Linked DNA regions of Homo sapiens: regions 1, 2, 4 and 5 are each linked to region 3. Evidence: promoter capture Hi-C in human tissues and cell types (Jung and others, 2019). All regions are on one chromosome and are shown on one strand. The core of a region is centred on a gene start or on the middle of the fragment in contact, and the rest is flanking DNA. Distances in the headings are between cores, read along the strand shown. Region 1 overlaps UTRN (utrophin). Region 2 overlaps UTRN (utrophin). Region 3 holds the start of SF3B5 (splicing factor 3b subunit 5). Region 4 overlaps UTRN (utrophin). Region 5 overlaps UTRN (utrophin).

The links. The method cuts DNA at HindIII sites, captures the fragments that hold promoters and counts their contacts. A contact is called where the count stands out against the background at its distance.
Region 1: a fragment that was not itself captured here is called in contact with the fragment with the promoter of SF3B5 in region 3 in 2 of the 25 tissues and cell types used here (H1 embryonic stem cells and aorta).
Region 2: a fragment that was not itself captured here is called in contact with the fragment with the promoter of SF3B5 in region 3 in 1 of the 25 tissues and cell types used here (heart right ventricle).
Region 4: a fragment that was not itself captured here is called in contact with the fragment with the promoter of SF3B5 in region 3 in 1 of the 25 tissues and cell types used here (spleen).
Region 5: a fragment that was not itself captured here is called in contact with the fragment with the promoter of SF3B5 in region 3 in 2 of the 25 tissues and cell types used here (mesenchymal stem cells and spleen).

The regions. Positions count from the first base shown.
Region 1 is chr6:144,435,957-144,438,656 of GRCh38, forward strand. It overlaps UTRN (utrophin), which reads left to right. Exons shown (of 75, transcript NM_007124.3): 10 at 1-182; 11 at 1,609-1,790. Among named protein-coding and RNA genes, the nearest start is that of SNORA98, 32 kb to the left of the region's middle. The HindIII fragment of the contact is 5,247 bases long and covers 1-2,700 here.
Region 2 is chr6:144,361,254-144,363,953 of GRCh38, forward strand. All of the region lies in intron 2 of UTRN (utrophin), which reads left to right. Among named protein-coding and RNA genes, the nearest start is that of SNORA98, 43 kb to the right of the region's middle. The HindIII fragment of the contact is 8,226 bases long and covers 1-2,700 here.
Region 3 is chr6:144,094,278-144,096,977 of GRCh38, forward strand. SF3B5 (splicing factor 3b subunit 5) reads right to left here and starts at 1,296. Exons shown (of 1, transcript NM_031287.3): 1 at 607-1,296. The coding sequence starts at 1,220. The coding sequence ends at 960. RefSeq lists an enhancer at 1,046-1,745. The HindIII fragment of the contact is 26,090 bases long and covers 1-2,700 here.
Region 4 is chr6:144,455,816-144,458,515 of GRCh38, forward strand. All of the region lies in intron 19 of UTRN (utrophin), which reads left to right. Among named protein-coding and RNA genes, the nearest start is that of SNORA98, 52 kb to the left of the region's middle. The HindIII fragment of the contact is 6,411 bases long and covers 1-2,700 here.
Region 5 is chr6:144,507,799-144,510,498 of GRCh38, forward strand. The region is part of intron 34 of UTRN (utrophin); the gene reads left to right. Among named protein-coding and RNA genes, the nearest start is that of SNORA98, 100 kb to the left of the region's middle. The HindIII fragment of the contact is 4,170 bases long and covers 1-2,700 here.

The DNA of each region.
Region 1 (2,700 bases), core at 81-2,580, 340 kb after region 3:
ATGAGAGTCCCCGAGCTGAAACTCCCAGCACTGTCACTGAGGTTGACATGGATCTGGACAGCTATCAGATTGCGTTGGAGGAAGTGCTGACCTGGTTGCTTTCTGCTGAGGACACTTTCCAGGAGCAGGATGATATTTCTGATGATGTTGAAGAAGTCAAAGACCAGTTTGCAACCCATGAAGTAAATATCTGTAGTTTCTTAGCAGGGTGTGTCCCCCACGGGACCTGAGCCTTAATCAGGGACTCTACTCTCCTATTTGTTATCTACTGAATTCTGTTCTTTGGAAAGGTCAATGGTTTATTTCAGGAACTGTGATATTTAAATAGTGCTTTGTCACAAAATTGGTATGGGTGATTAAACTGTGCCTCAGAATTAGATTTTAGATTTTAGTCTCCTTGTGTGTTTTGGAGAGCCACTGATGAAAATCATTGCATAGTACTGCTCAGTTCTGAAGTGCATTGTTATATTTCAAAAGCAAACGAGTGAACCAATACACCAAATCTTTAAGATTTGAGTGTTCCCTAGGAAATGATTATTCTTTTTAATTGCATGATTAAGCAAATGTCATACCCAGGGTTCCTGTATTTTTTCATATCATAAAAGTTTCCTGCTCCTTTGAGGACATACTATATTGCAGCATAGTGAATTTCACTATATGGAGATTTCTTTTGGTTAAATTTTTCTTTTGTATAGTTATGTGAATTGACAGATCTTATTTGTTGTTTTGGATAGAAAATAATATAAGTGGTAATATCTCTTAAACAGTTCCTCTTGGGTGAGTATGGTATTTTATTTTATATATATATTTATATATATAATAAATAAATATATATTTATATATAAATATATATAAATAAAAATAAATATATATTTTATTTTATATATAAATAAAATATATAAATAAATATATATAAATAAAATATATAAATATTTTTATATATAATCTATTTATATATTATATATGTATATGTATATGTGTGTGTATATATATATATTTATAATTTTTTTTTTTTTAACAGAGTCTTACTCTGTCACCCAGGCTGGAGTGCAGTGGCACAATCTTGGCTCACTGCAACTTCTACCTCCTGGCTTCAAGTGATTCTCCTGCATCAGCCTCCCAAGTAGCTGGGACTGCAAACATGTGCCACCACGCCCGGCTAATTTTTTGTGTTTTTAGTTAGAGACGGGGTTTCACCTTGTTGTCCAGGCTGGTCTTGAACTCCTGGCCTAGGTGATCCACCTGCCTCAGCCTCCCAAAATGCTGGGATTATAGGTGTGAGCCACCACACCCAGCCTTTTATTTTATTTATTTAGAATTCCATGTTCATGATCTATGAGTAGCATAGTCAGCATTTACTTTAAAATAGCTGGTATTATCAGATGCATCATTGCTTGCTTTGAGCTATTTCTCTTTTAACTTATGGCAGGTGTTTATTCCTATTTTCAGAGATTAAAAAATGTGGTCAATGTCTATTTTATTTGCGCTCTACTAGGCTACCTTTTTCTGCATCACTGACATTTAGGTTAGGCATTAGCAATTTGTTCAGTCTTCCTTTTTTTTTTTTGCACTGAGTAGCTCACAAATTATAACAATGTCCCTTTCTAGGCTTTTATGATGGAACTGACTGCACACCAGAGCAGTGTGGGCAGCGTCCTGCAGGCAGGCAACCAACTGATAACACAAGGAACTCTGTCAGACGAAGAAGAATTTGAGATTCAGGAACAGATGACCCTGCTGAATGCTAGATGGGAGGCTCTTAGGGTGGAGAGTATGGACAGACAGTCCCGGTGAGTGGAAAGCCAAGAAATGCACTTAATTCCACAGGCTGCTTTGCACAGTTGAGCTCTAGTAGATGTCTGCATGTCTGTGAAAGCGAGATGATTACAGAACTTGCCTTGGAAAAGTAAGACTCTTTTCTACGGGTAATATTGCTGGAATTCTGCATGATCTTTGTTTCCCCTTTGATGTGTTAGCCACACCAAAAGATAAAAGTTGGAATACAGAATTTAACAAAAAGGAAAAAGAGGATAGGCATGGTGGCTCATGCCTGTAATCCCAGCACTTGGGAGGCCAACGCGGATGGATCACTTGAGGCCAGGAGTTTGAGACCAGCCTGGGCGACATGGCGAAACTCCGTCTCTACTAAAAATACAAAAATTAGCTGGGCATGGTGGGCCATGCCTGTAATCCTAGCTACTTGGGAGGTTGAGGTATGAGGATCGCTTGAACTCAGGAGACAGAGATTGCAGTGAGCTGAGATTCAGCCACTGCACTCCAGCCTGGGTAACAAAGTGAGACTGTCTCCAAAAAAAGGAAAAGACATTTCATAGGGGCAGTTACTTATTTGCAATGTTAAGATTAGCTAAACATTAACTTGGTGTGAAGACAGGACTATGGAGTATTGATCTACTTTTCCATTTTGTGACTTTTATTTTAAAGCTTTCTCATGGTTTATTTTATTTCATGTATTGTGTCTTAAGGAGCAAACTGCATTCATTGCCACTTCCACCTATTTAATAAGCAGGAATTCCTGATTGAAGAAACAATGATTCTGATATGAATACAGGGTGCTGCTTTTTGCATTCTTTGTCTGCATTTAATGAACTCCATTTAGGACAAAATAAAAGTTTACTTTCCTGGCTTCTATATTTAAAGACTAAATGCTACCTTGAATGTTTAGACAAGGGTGTCTTCCCT
Region 2 (2,700 bases), core at 96-2,595, 270 kb after region 3:
TCAGAAAGACTAGCTTGTAGTTTGTGGCTAAAAAGACTGGCTGATGTTAGGAAGGGGGAGAAACACCTTATGTGTTGCTCTACTAATTTTGTCCTTGATTTTGAGCTAATTATTAATGCTCCAGGGAAAAATTTTAGCTTGGCAGGCAGGGAAATATTAGTTTCAATTGTGAGCTTAATCCAGAGGGCTATGTTTGAGTTAAAACCATCCAGGAGTCTTCCAGGGAAGTCCAGAATCTTCCAGGGAAGACCAGGTGGATCTATTTCTGGATGCTAAAAGGGGCATTGCGGGGCTGATAAGGAAATAAGTCCCTTGTTCTTTAAAAAAAAATTATTTATTTATTTATCTTTTTTAGAGACAGTGTCTCACTCTGTTACCCAGGCTGGAGTGCAATGGCATGACCATGGCTCATGCAGCCTCAACCTTCTGGGTTCAAGTGATCCTCCCTCCTCAGTTTCCCAAGTAGCTGGGACCACAGGTGTCTGAAACCACACCTGGCTAATTTTCTTTCTTTCTTTCTTTTTTTTTTTTTTGTAGAGATGGGGTCTCGCTATGTTGCCCAGGCTGGTCTTGAACTCCTGGGCTTAAGTGATCCTCCTACTTTGGTCTCCTAAAAGTGCTGAGATTACAGATGTGAGACACCTCACCCAGCCAGAACTGCCTGTTTCATTAGAGAGACACAAGTCAATTCCTGGAATTTTTTTTTCCTTTTTGCTGCCACTTTCTTACTTAAAAGAATAAAAATCAAAGCCAAATTCATCATAGTAATCATAATAATGGCAACAACAACAAAAAAAGGAGTAAAATAGAGTTGTGAATGTTTGCTTTGTTATTAAACATATCAACTCATTGGAGCTGATTTATATAAAGTTAAATCCTGCTAGAATAGCTGGATTCCTTCCTACATGGGTGGGGTGGGAATGCTGAGATCCTGGTGTGGGCATTCCATGCCAGGGTAGAAATTTCCTGCTCAGGCACTTAGTGAAGGAGCCAACTGAGGGAGGATAGGTGATGTGCCCGCCCATCCGGTGGCACCCAGTGACCTGTGCACACCACCCCCCATCTGCCCAGGACCCAGCCATGTTGTTCATTGTACCCTTTTCAGACTGCTGACCTCCAGGAGCACTTGTCTTAAAGTCACATAGCTGTATTTTTCCTCTCCAGAAAAATTTTGAATGTATTTTCTAAATAGCTGAGGTCATTGCATGGTCTTCAGTGAACTTAGCTACAAGTGAATGTGACCTGGAGTGACCCAGAGTGAGTGCTGGCCAGCATAGGTTTCACATTTTCTGTGTGAAAGTTCTTCTTTTGTTGTTTGTGATTAATAACTGGATGGGATATAAAGCCAAATGATTTCATTGTTGAACACAGACTTGAAGGTCATGAGAAACTGCCTGTTCAAATTACACTTTGCCAAGACATGGAAAAAGGTCTGCATCAACACCTGAATAGTTTTAGAAATACGGTAGAGAAGGAAAAAAATGACATGCCACTTGTTATGTGATGTGAAAGTTGATTTCCACGCGATGCAATATCTTGGGTCCTTACAACATCTGACCTATGAGGCTGATGAGTTTGCACTGAGTCAGGACTTTAAAACAAAGGTGTATTGAGGACCTACTGTGTGCCAGGTCATTTAGAATGAGTTTTTATGCTAAGTAATGTGTTATATTTATGCTTATTTTGTTAAGTGCTCAGTTTCTCTTAGGTTTTGTATTATGTGGGTTTGCTATTTTTTAAAAAAATATTTTTAATTTTTTGGGTATGGTTTGCTATTTGAAATATGATTTTGAATAAGTTTCTCAGTACATAGCACTTTTAATTTTATGTTTTTAAAAGATTTTTTAATGGTTATACATAATAATTGATGGACACACAATAGTATTTAAATCTAAAAATAGAGAAACCATGGCACACAAAACACAGTATCTTACAGAACTGTATTATTTGCTTCTTTTCTATGTGTTTTCTAGGCTTTTGAGTCAGATGTTAGGAAAGAGTCTGTCCATCTTTAATTTTCTCACTTCGAGAAGCACTGAAATATTTCTATACATATGTCCATTGGTATAGCGACCTAACACAACTTTAAAATCATTTTGAAATTGACGCACAGAGAGCTTGGTTTTCCAGAACTGGTGAGGTGTAAGATGGTTGAGGACTGACTTGGCCTGGTCGGACCTGTTTCTTTGTAGCATTATTACTATTTGTTTATTTTCCACCTGGGCCTTACATCTTCCCTCTCAAGACAGCGTCTAGGTCCCAACTCAGTTGGTAGGAATTTGTGCAGTAGCAAACCTGCAGATGGGCAGAGATACAAACTCACTCAACTCACATTACAGTCTTTCCCTGTCTAAAACAAACAAGAAAACAAAACAAAAAAGGGAGAGATCATATAGGCGTGTATATATACAATATTTTGTTATAGATAAGGAACAAAGTACCATATGAATTCAAAAGGTGAGGGTGGGATGGGTTTAGAGCTGGGAGAGAAACCATCTAAAGCCTTCATGAAAGGGGGTACCATTTGCTGTGGATACTGATGGCAATGTTGGGGCTGGAGGAAAATGTTCCAGGTAGAGGGCACAGAATTAATAGGGGGTAGCTATAAAAAGCATGCTGAATACCATGCTAGGTAGGCATTTAGCCCTGTAGCATATAGATGTATCTGAATTTAAAGGCAGTGGGTGATGTTCGGAGGTT
Region 3 (2,700 bases), core at 46-2,545:
AAGTCTTTGCTCAAATGTCACCATCTCAGTAACTTGTGCATCATATTTAAGATTACAGCCCTACCAGCTACTCCCACCCGCACCACATACATTGTTCTCCCCTCCCCGCAGCATCTTCTAACATTTGCTTATTACATCTAGTGTTTGACCTCCTTTCTCCACCACCAGCATAATGTAAGCCCCAAGAACACGGGAAAATGCCTGTCACATAGAGCTCAACAAATATTTGTTGAATGTAGAATGGATGAACTCGCTTGCCAGCTTGTCATTTCTGGAGACATGGCCACAAATTCCCAAGAAAAAAAAAAGGATGCATTTTAAAGAGGCTAGGGAGGACAATGACAGCAAAGACTGCAAAGAGTTTTAAAACAGGAGAAAAAGAAGATGGGATACAATAACCACAAATTTCAATACTGAAGGCATTGTGGGCCTGAAAATAACGCTCTTGGGAAAAGTGGCAGTCGGGGAATTAATTATAAAGGTAGACACGGCGGATCTAAGTGCCTGGCCATGGACACTGGCATGCGCTCCCTCACCCAAACCCACTTCCCGCTCAGCTCTTTCCGGAGCCTTCCACCCTAACACAGAAAGTTCACACCAAGAGACTGAACGATTTCTAAACTTTATGGAAAAAGCCAATGACAATCAATTAGCCAAAAACGAGACGCCAAATCCCATCTCACTCCAGCGCCATGCCCTCTTCTCAAACGCTCGCCGGCTCTAGGACCTCTCCACCAGCACAGTTCTCAGGAGTCCTGCTGGTCTCCCAGTGCTGTTCTAAGGGTCCACATGAAGGCAGGTCAGGCGGGACTCCCCGGGCAAGCACTTCTGTACGCGGAAAGCACGAGGCGCAGGAGCCATGGAGAGCCGGTCCTTTGGAGACAGGAATACTTAAGAGGATTGGCAAACCGGAGAAACGCTGGGAGAGGTGCCCCGCACTGCGGTGGTAAGGCAGAGTCTCAGTTCTCCTCGGGCTTGTCGGCTGGCGGTCCACAAGGCTGAAGCATCTTTTCCATCAAGTTGAAGCGGACTCGCGCTTTGCTCTCATTCTCCGCAATGGCGAAGTAGTTGAGAAGGTCGAAGTGGCCCATGTAGGAGCAGTACGAGTCGCGGTGTTGGTTCACCAGCCACTCCCACTTGGTGGTGTCGGCGTGGCCCGTGCCGATGTACTTGGACTGCAGGTGCTCCAGCTGGCTATGGATGGTGTAGCGGTCAGTCATCTCGCCGCTTTCCCCTTCGCTCTCAGGTCAGAGGACGCAGGTAACAACTCGCCGCTCTAGCGTTTTACAGGAGAGTGAAGCCACCGCGCGGAAGCTCCAGGTCCGCGCCGTCGCAGAAGAATGGCGTCACAACGACTAAGTAGCGTAACTCTCGCTCATAGGGCTCAGAGGCGGAAGCGGAAGCACATTCTGTCACGCAATTGGAGTTGCTGAGGCGACGCAACAAGTGTGCCTCCCCCCTCCATGGAGATCCCCGCCCCATCAGAGAATGTTGCATGATGGTCCACTTAGTGGCTAAGGGAGGCCCTTTTCCAACAAGGAGCGTTGCATGCTGGGACTTGTGGTCTTGGGAGTTCGTGCACGCAGGCTTCCGGGACTCCTGGTCGCGTTCTGTTGTTTGTTTGTTTGTTTGTTTAAGACGGAGTCTTGCACTGTTGCCCGGGCTGCAATGCAATGGCGCGATCTCGGCTCACTGCAACCTCCGCCTCCTGGGTTCACGCGATTCTCCTGCTTCAGCCTCCCGAGTAGCTGGGATGACAGTTGCACACCACCACGCCCGGCTAGTTTTTTTGTATTTTTAGTAAAGACGGGGTTTCACTGGTCTCGAACCCCTGACCTCGTGATCCGCCCGCCTCGGACTCCCAAAGTGCTGGGATTACAGGCGTGAGCCACCGCGCCCGGCCCCTGGTCGCGTTTTAAAAGTGATCTGGGGACCTAGTGGAGGGCGATGTCTGGAGGTGGGGAGCATCCGTGGGTGGCTTGGGGCTGATAGGAAATGGGAAACCCAAGAATGACTGGACTACGAGCAGCCCCGAAAATAAACTCTTGGTGTATTTCGGAGCCGTCGTGGCGGCACGGCCGTCCCTTCACAACCGGGGATGGATTACCCAGAAGTCAGCAGGCGCCAGTTCTGGTCCCAACTATGTCTCTTAGGAGTTTGTGGCATAAAAGAGTTATTTCAGCTCTAACCAGGGTGCTTGGTGAGCAAGTACAGCACCAGTTCCCACACATTCCGGCTTCCACCTCAAGCTCCTCCTTCCTCTCTAGCCACTTATTTTGATATCCTCCCTCCAAGGCCTCACCTCACCCTACTTGGCTCTTCCATTCAGTGGGTTTTGTGGATTCAACCAACCTGATTGAAAATATTGGGGGAAAATATCAGTCTGTACCGAAATGCAGACTTTTTAAGGTTATTATTCCCTAAACAATACAGTATAACAACTATTTACATAGCATTTACATTGTATTAGGTATGTTAAATAATCTAGAGACAAACTATACAGGAGGATGTGCGTATATGCAAATACAAGCCGTTTTATATCAGGGACTTGAGCATCCTCTAGTTTTGGTATCCATGGGGGTCCTGGAACAAATCACTCACGAATACTGAGGGACAACTGTATTTCTCCATGTTACCTGTTGTGTCCATCCCCATTTCCTTGTACAAGCTATTCCCTCTACGTGGAATGTCTGTTCCCTT
Region 4 (2,700 bases), core at 148-2,647, 360 kb after region 3:
TTATTAGCTGACTATAGGCTTTGGTCCATAAAATTCTACCATAAATGGGTCCTAAATAGACACATTCTGGACATTGAGTTCACATGAAAGTGCTACTTGCAAAAGGCCAAAGGCAACACTGGAGAATAGTTGACATGGGGCTTTTGTCACCTAATGTATACTTGCCCAATTTCATAGGAAACCTTTTATAGTTTGTATTATCATGTTTTTTCAAGCATTGGTGGAATTAGAAATGCATTCATTAGAGGACCCTAATTCTTTTTTGTTTTAAAGATGCATCTATTAAAAAATTTTTTTTAGGACAACAGTGGGAAGCTGAGAAATGGGGGAGCTGAACTGGATAAAGTCTGTGTGTTCCAGTTCAGTTAGGGAGGCATGTCAAATTCTTCAGTAAAACCCATATTTGAATAATCACGTCACTGTTTTTCTGAAACCAGTTCCATCAAAAAGCCCACCATAGCCAATTCTGATAGGTCTTTCCTGCCTAATGCATTTTACATAAGTTTTGAGGTATCTCATAGAGCATAGAAACAATTTTAGAAAATAAAATAGCGTGAGGCTGGGCGCAGTGGCTCACACCTGTAATCCCAGAACTTTGGGAGGCCGAGGTGGGTGGGTCACGAGGTCAGGAGATCAACACCATCCTGGGCAACATGGTGAAACCTCGTCTCTACTAAAAATACAAAAATTAGCTGGGCATGGTGGCACATGCCTGTAATCTCAGTTACTCAGGAGGCTGAGGCAGGAGAATCGCTTGAACCAGGGAGTCGGAGGTTGCAGTGAGCTGAGATTGCACCACTACACTCCAGCCTGGTGACAGAGCAAGACTCTGTCTCAAAATAATAATAATAATAATAATAATAATAATAATAATAATAATAAATAAAATAGTGTGTTTCATTTGACTTTCATAGCTGATATACTTGGTTTTCTTCGTTTAGCTTATCTTGTTCCTAGAGCTCTTCATCTAGTAAAATACAGTAGAGTAGTTGGGCATCTGGATAATGTGGCTTTATGAATCAATGCCCATTGTGGTTGCCTAAGCATATAAGCCCAGGAAGTTTGGTGAAGGTCCTATGTTTTGTAAACGTTTCCCTTGATTCCAATAGTGATAGACTGAGAAGTGTAAAGTCAAGTGAGACTGAGTGGCAGGAATGTGTTCTATGTTCTCCCTTTTAGACAATTAATAAAGTGATCTTCTGTTGATTTTGCCTTTTGACTAGTCACCTTCTAAGAACTCTGTGTTTTATAGAAATAGAAAATTTTAAACTCTGGATCTCTGGGAGTAAAACAACTATTTTTAAAGACAATGTGCAGTTTTCCTTTTATAAGATGTAAATTGTGTTTGAATCATTACCGGGCATCACTGTAACCAGCAATATCTCAGGATTAGAGAAAGGGAGATTCAGATGTTTAAAATTGGTTTAAAGAGGCAAAATGAATGGCTTGTAAGACATTGTCAGTGAAAAAATAACTGAAGTTGTTTTAACCGCCCTTGTTCTTGAAGTGAGCACCTCTTTCCAGTTTTCTAGATGAGTAGTGGTAATTTTCCATCTCAGAAATTTTATTTACCTACTTAATTTTCTTCCTTGATTAGTATGAATTGTCCAACATAAAGATGATGTGGCTGGTGTTACTATTCCTTTGCCTGCCTAGAATAGAAATGATGGGGCAGGGGCATGACCCATATCTCCATTGTTCATATTGTTAGGAAAATGGTGATTTGTTTTGTATACTCTCCCCATTAACAGGGGTAATGCAGCATGGCTTGTGGTGTGAATGCTTTGCTTATGTCTCATATTCTCTTACCTGAGAGATGGTGGTGAACAGTGAACTTCTGCAATTGACATAGGTGACACATTCAAATGACAGCATGATATGCCCTCATTTATGATTTTCAGTAGACACAGTGTATTATAAAAATTTTCAAAGTTGCATTGTCTGTGGATCATACATGACTTTTTGTTTTTATGCCTTTGTTTTTTAGTTCAAGCTCTCATTATCCTGGATTTTGATCATATATGTTTATAAAGCAGGATTGTTTTATTGCTTTCCTACTCAATAAAAATGTGAAGCCATCCTTTTGGTATGCATGTTTTCCTCCGAATAGAAAGATTCCTTTGAAGATTTCCCATACTTTTTCATAGTCATTTTAGAGGATTTGAAGGTATTTTAGATTAAGGGAAGGACTATGATAAAACCTATTATTATATATGACTTTATTATTTTTAGGAACATTCTCTACTTTTCAAAAATATCGGACAAATAAAATGATAAGATTTCAGTAATAAAAATGGTGGCATTGTTTTCCCTGATGTGTTTCTAAAGTAGATCATCTTATTGCTGCCTCAGTCTTTTGGTATTTGCTTATTTATGTGCAAGGTCTCCAGTGGGCTTGCTGATGCTTCTAGAGCCTGGCTGCTGGCTTAATATTCCTGCACTCACCAGGTTGCTTCCCAGCATAAGGCATCCTCGCCATTCATTTTTTAATTTATATGACACTGTGCTTTGGTCACCAAGACCTGAGCTGCCTCCTAGTTTTTCTAGCCAGCTTTCTTTTTTTCTTAGGACAAAGGGTCTTCTTTCTGAAGTCGGGCCTAGACAGATCAAGGTAGTTGATCTTATTTCACTGGTTCAGGTGATAAACTAGCAGAGTAGAAGCATGGCATGGATGGAAACATATATTATCTAGAAAAGGCA
Region 5 (2,700 bases), core at 116-2,615, 410 kb after region 3:
GAGATCCGCTGCTCTCTTCAGAGCCAGCAGGCAGGAACATTTAAGTCTGCTGAAGCTTTGCTCACAGCTGCCCTTTCCCCCAGGTGCTCTGTCCCAGGCAGATGGGAGTTTTCTCTATAAGCCCCTTGCTGGGGCTGCCACCCTTCTTTCAGAGATCAGACAGTCTGGCTACAGTTGCTTTTCTGAGCTGTGGTGGGTTCTGCCCAGTTTGAACTTCCTGGAGGCTTTGTTTACACTGTGAGGGGAAAACTGCCTACTCAAGCCTCAGTAATGGTGGATGCCCCTCTCACCACCAAGCTCCAGCATTCCAGGTCGACTTCAGACTGCTGTCCTGGCAGCGAGAATTTCCAGCCGTTGGATCTTAGCTTGCCGGGCTCCATGGGGATGGGATCTGCTGAGCTAGACCACTTGGCTCCCTGGCTTCAGTCCCCTTTCCAGGGGAGTGAATGGTTCTGTCTTGCTGGTGTTCCAGGCACCACTGGGGTGTGAAAAAAAACAAACAAACAACTCCTGCAGCTAGCTTGGTGTCTCCCCAATCGGCTGCCCAGTTTAGTGCTTGAAACCCAGGGCCCTGGTGATGTAGGCACCTGAGGGAATCTCCGGGTCTGTAGGTTGTGAAGGCCTTGAGAAAAGTGTAGTATCTTGGCTGGATAGCACCGTACCTCACGGCACAGTCCCTCATGGCTTCCCTTGGCTAGGGGAGGGAGTTCCCCAACCTCTTGCGCTTCCCTGGTGAAGCGACACCCTCCGTGGGCTGCACCCACTGTCTAACCAGTTCCAGTGAGATGAACCAAGTACCTCTGTTGGAAATGCAGAAATCACCTGCATTCTGTTTTGGTCTTGCTGGGAGCTGCAGACTGGAGCTGTTCCTGTTTGGCCATCTTGCCAGCCACCTCCTCTGCTAGCTCTTTTATAGTTTCATCTTTTTACCTTTAATGCATTAATCTTTCCAGTATTTATTTTGGTGTATTTCGTGAGGTAAGGCTCTAACCTTCTTTCCAAAAGGATAACCAATTATCTTAGTGCTATTGGTTGAGTAATTAACCTTGTCCCCATGGATTTGACATGCTAAGTTCATATATTCTTATTTTCCTGTTGCCTTTCGTTGTTTTCTGCTCCACTGATCTGGCCCCATGAAATGTACCAGTTTTTAGAATGTTTAGCCATGTTTTATAGTATATTTTAACTGCAGTTAATGGGTTCCCTCTCTTTATGCTTCATTTTTGGTATATATCTTATATGAACTTTAGAATTTTTATTGTTAAATTCTTAAATTCTATTGGAAATTTTGATTTGAATTGCCTTGAATTCATACATTTGTGTAGTGCAGAATTGATATCTTTGTTATATTAATTCTATTCGGTAACATATATGTCTCATTTTTGTCCTAAATTCTTTCACATTCCTACATAATGTTTTGATTTTTTTCTTTATAAACATTATTCATATATGCACAGGAGTTTATTCCTACATATCTATTTTTATTGCTATGTAAAAATATACTTTTCGGTTTTTTTACAGAGTGCTTATTGTTGGTACATAGGTGATATTGATTTTATATATTCAATTTTTAAACATCCATGTTCATATACTCATAAATTCAATTTGTTTTTCAGCTGATTCTCATAGCTTTTTTAGGTAAAGACTCAAAGCAATGAAAAATTTGTTTCTTTTGGAACAATATGCTCTTAAGTTTCCATTTAATCTTATTTCAGAATTGAAATGATAAAGATGATATATACAAGTCACAAATTCACAGCACATTCTCTTCATTAGAGTAAATCAAATGAAACATCAGTATATATTAATAACCACCATCTTTTTATCACTGTCTTTTCAGATTTAAGGAACATGCAGATTTCACCACATTTTAATGTATTTGCACTTAAAGATTATGTAAAATTATTTTCAATGCAAAGCTTAAATAAATAATATTTTCATTTCTGAATACTGTTTTTATTCCATAACTTAAATATAACTATTTTCAATGTAATCTTTTTTACTGTAAAAAAGTATGTGTACTATTTAGATGTAATTACTTGTAGTTCATTATTTTTTATAGTTCTTAAATGCTATTCTAGTCAATCAGTACATGCCCACTGAAGAAATGAAAGATTCTTATTAATAATTGCTGAGAGCATAGCTATTGGGTATCCTTTATTTTCTCCCCCCTTGCTAGAGAATAATATTGGAAAGTAGTATTTCAGTTCTGTCATAAATATGCCAGTAATTGACATGGCCAAGTGAGTGTTTAAACCTGGACTCATTTGTGAATTTGTAATTGGTATGCTTTCCAAGGTGTGATTTAATGTAGAAATATAAACTTGAGCTCCTTAAAATGATTGGTTTAAATGTTGATTTAAAAAATGGTCAATAATAGTAGCAGTAGGGTAGATACATGCATATTGCTTTTTGATTGAAAGAGCTTTGTAGTTTTAATTGTGGAACTCATGCTCTCTCTATAATTCTGTGACTATATACTTTGCCTGGTGAAACTTACGAATGTGCCGATCACTTTATCATCATACCATCCAGAGTATTATCTTTGCACTTATGACAGTTGTAAGACCAAAGCTTAGACTTGCTGCTCTCTTGTGAGTTACTTACATGAAATGTTTTTTTGTAATGTTTATTCAGTATATTATATGTGAAATCACCCAGCTGTAAGATGTTATCCTTGCAAGTACCTATAGTACACAT